Linked DNA regions of Homo sapiens: region 1 is linked to region 2. Evidence: promoter capture Hi-C in 16 types of primary human blood cells and fetal thymus (Javierre and others, 2016). All regions are on one chromosome and are shown on one strand. Each heading gives the region's core, a stretch centred on a gene start or on the middle of the fragment in contact. The rest is flanking DNA. Distances are from core to core; before and after follow the strand shown. Region 1 overlaps LMTK2 (lemur tyrosine kinase 2). Region 2 holds the start of ASNS (asparagine synthetase (glutamine-hydrolyzing)).

What was found. The method cuts DNA at HindIII sites, captures the fragments that hold promoters and counts their contacts. A CHiCAGO score of 5 or more calls a contact.
Region 1: a contact is called between a fragment that was not itself captured here and the fragment with the promoter of ASNS in region 2, in 1 of 17 cell types (total B cells). The highest score is 5.2, in total B cells.

Annotation. Positions count from the first base shown.
Region 1 is chr7:98,165,802-98,168,501 of GRCh38, reverse strand. The region is part of intron 6 of LMTK2 (lemur tyrosine kinase 2); the gene reads right to left. Among named protein-coding and RNA genes, the nearest start is that of BHLHA15, 44 kb to the left of the region's middle. RefSeq lists enhancers at 1,928-2,443, 2,444-2,700. The HindIII fragment of the contact is 5,014 bases long and covers 1-2,700 here.
Region 2 is chr7:97,871,046-97,873,745 of GRCh38, reverse strand. ASNS (asparagine synthetase (glutamine-hydrolyzing)) reads left to right here and starts at 1,338. Exons shown (of 13, transcript NM_001673.5): 1 at 1,338-1,395. The region is part of intron 7 of CZ1P-ASNS (CZ1P-ASNS readthrough); the gene reads left to right. RefSeq lists silencers at 1,107-1,196, 1,507-1,616 and an enhancer at 742-1,457. The HindIII fragment of the contact is 3,580 bases long and covers 993-2,700 here.

The DNA of each region.
Region 1 (2,700 bases), core at 137-2,636, 290 kb before region 2:
TGAAAGGATGAAAGAATGATATAGACAGCGCAACACCCCCGCTTCTGCTAATGAAATAGAAGACATGCAGACTGGGGCAGCTGACGCCGCCACGCCTCCGCGAAGCCCGGGGCCTCGCTTCCCTCCCAGCAGCTCTCTGCCTGTGTCTATTTTTTCTCAGCACCACTGGTCCCCCCGCCCACTGGCATCCATAACCTTATACATCATCTCCTCTTTGGTTGCCATGGATTCTTCGTCTTGTGCCTTTCTAAGCTCAGTCCTCTCGAGAGTCCATCTCTTCTCTCTGCTCTGGCCCCAAACACCTCCCAGGTAAACCCAGCCCTCCCCTCCCCAGCCCTCCACTTCTTTCTCCTTTCCGTAGTTAAACTCCTCAGAAGCCTGGTCGGTCCTGGCTCCTTGTTCAGGAACCCCTTGCCACCATCAGAAGCACTTGCATCCACCATTCAGTGGCAGCTGCTCTCGCCAGGCCTATCAAGGAGTGACCTGCCCACTTCTCCCCAAGCACAGCTGGTCGGGTCTCATCTCACCAGCATTAATGGAGACCGGCCCGTTCTTTCCTTGCTTAAACATGTTCTTCACCAGCCTTCGGGCACCGCAACCTCCTGCGTTTCTTCTTATCCCACTGGCCGCTCCTTCCTCGGCCCCCCCACTGGCTCTCCCTCCTCTCGTTGATCCGTAAGGACCCTGGAGCTCCGTCCTGGTCCTCAGTCCTGGGGGCGCTCCCCGACCAGGGGTTTCAGCCACCCCATGGCTTGAAAGCCCATGCCTCACGTACAGCTCTCTGGCCCAGCCCCTCATCTCCTGACTCAACTTCCCTCCCTGTATGCCTAAGAGCCCTCTGGCACAAACCTCTGCCAGTCTCAGTAAGTGGCATCGCCGTTTTCCAAGTGCGTCAGACCAAAAGTGAAGATGTCATTTGTGAGTTCTGCCTCTAGGCAGCCACATCCAACCCGTCACCAAGTTCTGGGTCTGTTTTCAAACTACCTCCCATGCCTCCGCTGCTGTGGTATTGGTCCCAGCACCACCCCACCTTGAGGACACACCTGCGCCAGTCTCCCTGCGGCCTCCCTGCATCCATTCGCCTGAGCAGCCAAAGCCAGTCCCTGAAAACATAAATCCAACCGTGATAGCCTGGGTTCCTCCCTGCTGTTTTATTTCCTTGTCTGTCTCTACCACTAGAAAGCAAGCTAGACATGGCTAGGACTCCGTCTAGTTCCCTATTGTGTCTCTAAAACCTAGAACAGTGCTGGGCACACAGCATGTGTTTAATATTTGCTTAATGAATGGGAGAAAAAAGAAAAAACACTTAGGCAGACATTCTAAATGATGCCCTACAGGTTAAAGTTGGGACAACTGTTTTCCCAAAGCCGCCCCACCCTATCATTTCCATTTAATAATCTAATAAGAATGAACTTAGGAGTAAATCTGAAATTTCACATTTTTACTGGGCTTTTAAATTTATTACTTCATTACTCTGGACATTAAAGCTAGCCAAAGACACTTAATTTGGGAAAATAATATTCTTTAAGTAAAATCTGATTCTCTTTGAAAGTTTATCTTTGTATAGTAAATGTTACTTTGAGAACAGAGAGTCTAAATTATTCCAAAATTCTGTTAAAATACAGTCGTGTGTCACTTAACACTGGGGATGCCTTCTGAGAAATGTGTTGTTAGGCAATTTCACCATCGTGCAAACATCACAGAGTATACTTACATGAACCTAGATGGTCAGCCTACTGCACCCTGAGGCTACAGAGGGTGGTTTCTTGCTACAGCCTAGGCTTCAAACCTATAGAGCATGTTACTGCACTGAAAACAGTGTAAGCCACTGTAACACGATGGCAAGTATTTCTGTATGCAGCCTTGACCTCCTGGGCTCAAGAGACCCTTAGACCACACTAAATCTATATAAAAATTTTGTCTTTCTCAATAATATACCTTAGCTTACTGTAACTTTTTTACTTTTTAATTTTTTAAAACTTTTGAGTCTTTTTGTAATAACACTTAGGTTAAAACAAAAACACATTGCACAGTTGTACAAAAATATTTTTCTTTATATCCTTATTCTGTAAATTTTTCTATTAAAAGTGTTTTTCTTTTTAAACTTTTACAGACAACAGTGAGGCCCCCATCAGCCTGCCCAAGCACCATCGGAGGGCGCCAGAGAACCTCTGCTGAAATCACAGCTGCCACTCCGTGTGGCTCCAGCGCTCCAGCTACAGGTGCACACCTTGGTTATAAGCAGCGATGACCTGTCACTGCAGCAACAGGGGAGAAAGAAGACAGCACCTAGGAGCAGTGTGGCCACACACATGGGGAAGCAGTGCTGATGGAGGAAATGCAGGGGAGGGAGAGCAGGCACCAGGGAAGACCGGAAGGGCCTGGCCAGAGGCAGCCGAGGCAGACTCAGCAAGGGCCAAGGCCGTAGTGCCCGGGCTGCAGCCAGGCGTGGGGAGGGCCAAGGCCATTGGCAGGGCCCCAGCACAGGGCCGGGCACTGGAACAGGGCAGACGCAGGGACTGGGAACGTACCCCCGACCCAATCACCCCCACACCTCAACCCATGCGGTTGTCCAGCACAGGCCTCCCCTCTGCTGGCTCTGGTCAGGGACCCCATCCACCTGTGCCCCCAGCTCTCCTCACGCCTGTTCCACCGTGACTCTGTGTCCCCTCTCCTCTACATGAGCTCCTTAGGGGCAAC
Region 2 (2,700 bases), core at 89-2,588:
AGGCAAGATGCTACGGGAAATGGGCTCTGGGTTTACACAGATTATGACTCAGTTCTCTACTGTTGTGAAGCTGTGTTTGGATAAATCCCTCAACTTTTCTGAGTCTTATTTTTTCATTTGTAAAATGTAGATAGAAGACCTACTTTCCCACATTGCTCTCAGGTTTAAAGTACGTCAATTAGGATACAGCAAAGTCTGTTTGATACTGAAAACTTTCCAGCAACAATGAACCTTAGAACAAGTCATCTCTCATCTTTGCTCTTGCCTGTAACTACTAAGCGACTACTCCATCTTCTGTTCTTAGGGATTTTAAATTGTTGACGTTTTTGATTTAGTCAGGAATGCGTTGTATGGGGATATCAAACCTGCATGCTCTCCAAGCATTGACTGTAGTCTGATCTTAGTAGGTCGTGCACATATAATTTTACTATTTCTCAATTTATTTCGGTGCTGATGTAATTAGTAAAATACGATTTAAGAGTGTTATGATACTTTTTAAAAATCGTGATGTCTTTTCTTCATCAAAGAGATACTTAAAAGCACATAATCATCTTGTGGAGGCAAGTTGACAAAATCCTTTTTGAGATTCTAAAAGGAATCTTTGTACTTAAAATGTTTAAGGACCACTGATGTATTTTGGCTTCATGTATCAATTAGATTTAGATTTTATTGTTTTAGAGATGGGGGTCTCCCTTTGTCGCCCAGGCTGGAGTTGAGCTCACCTCAGCCTCAAACGCCTGGGCTCAAACTATCCTTCTGCCTCAGCCTCCTGAGTTGCTGGGACTACCATGGTGTGCCACCAATTTTTATAGAGATGTGATCTCGCTGTGTTTCCCAGGCTGGTCTTGAACTCCTGGTTTCAAGTGATCCTCTTGCCTTGGCTTCCCAAAGTGTTGGGATTACAGGCGTGAGCCACCGCTCCTGGCCCCGATTTATTAATAGATCTTATAAGGACATTTTAGGCCTCACGCATCAGTTTCTTAGGACAAGCTTTTCTCTGCACTGCATAATAAATCAGACGGCAGTGCAACAAAAAAACGGTGATGATTTCCCGAAGAACAAACCAAGTTCAGAAGCCTCCCTAATTGTCAGAACAGCAGGTAGCCTGGGCGGAGCTCTGAGGCTATCCTTAAACAGGCGCACTGAGACGCAAGGCGCTGGAAACAAAAGAGCTCCTCCTTGCGCCCTTCCGCCGCCCCACTTAGTCCTGCTCCGCCCCGGACACCCCGCGGCCCCGCCCCTGTGCGCGCTGGTTGGTCCTCGCAGGCATGATGAAACTTCCCGCACGCGTTACAGGAGCCAGGTCGGTATAAGCGCCAGCGGCCTCGCCGCCCGTCAAGCTGTCCACATCCCTGGCCTCAGCCCGCCACATCACCCTGACCTGCTTACGCCCAGGTGAGCCGGGTCCTGCGCCCCGTGCCCTGCGCCCCGCGCCAGCATCCTCCTCGCGTGCCCTGGGGCTGCTCCGGAAGGAAGGGGTGGAGGATGCGGTCTTCAGCCTGGCACCCGGCAGACGCGGTTCGCGGGCGCCTGCTGATGCTGCGGCTCCTGCGGTAGGGAGGGCGGGGCGGACGCCTAGCGATTGTTACGCACCTGACAGCTAGCGGAAGGACCTTTCTGTCCTGGTTCCCTGAAGCATCGAGAGGGAACCGCGGCCGGCAGGCCGGACCGCTCCGGAGAGGAGGCAGCGGCAGTTTGAGCCCCTGTAAATGTTATATGTGTACTTTTTTTTACTATGTGGCGTCGAAGCCTGTGGACATTTTCGCGGTCCGGGTCCCTGCGGCGGACGGGTCGGATCGTGCTCGTGGCCAGGGCGCAGTCAGGTGTCGCGTGGTCCTGATCTAGGAAGAGACTGCGGCCTTATCACCGTCTCGGTGTCTGCTTTCACCTTCAACTGCCCCCCTCCTCACCTGGACCGCTCACCCTCCTCCTCCCCTCTCACCCCGCCATCCCCACCAGTCCCCACCTGTCTCTGTAGACTGCAAGACTCATCAAGTGACTTGCTGAGCAAACCCTGCCGAGAAGAGGTCTGTTTAGGGACACAGGCGACCAAGTACAGAAAAAGGCAAAAGAACTAGCATGCCTTTTTCAATGGCTGTCATTTTGCAGGGCTGGCTTCAGATGATTGTTATAGCTTTAAATAAAAAGGACAGTTTTCATCTCGGCCCGTGGCCTACATTATTTCTTTACTGTCCATTGCCCTGGGCGCTTGACTAATAATTTAACAGCAGTTTTTTTTTTTAAATTTTAAATCATGATTCATAGCATTGCTGTAAGAGTAATTAGAGGTAAAGTAGGGCTTGAACCTGTCTGTAGTTGGTTACTTACTGAGATCTTAATATAAAAGTAAAGGGAGAGGGTGAAGTTGTAAGTAGCACTAAGTGGAATAGAAATTAAATGCACTGAAACTGCCATGTCCAGTTCGGTAGGCGCTAGCCACCTGTAACTGTTGAGCACTTGAAGTGCTGGCTAGTCCTAACTGAGATGTATTGTGTTAAATACACTGGATTTTGTCGTTGGAGTAGGAAGAACAGTGTAAAATATCTGCTCGATAATATTTTATATTGATTACATATATGTTAAAATGTTACTATTTGGGACATACTGAGTTAAGTTTATTTAAAATTAATTTCACCTTTTTCTTTTAATGGGGCTACTAGTATATTTAAAATTACATATGTGGCTTACATATATATTTAT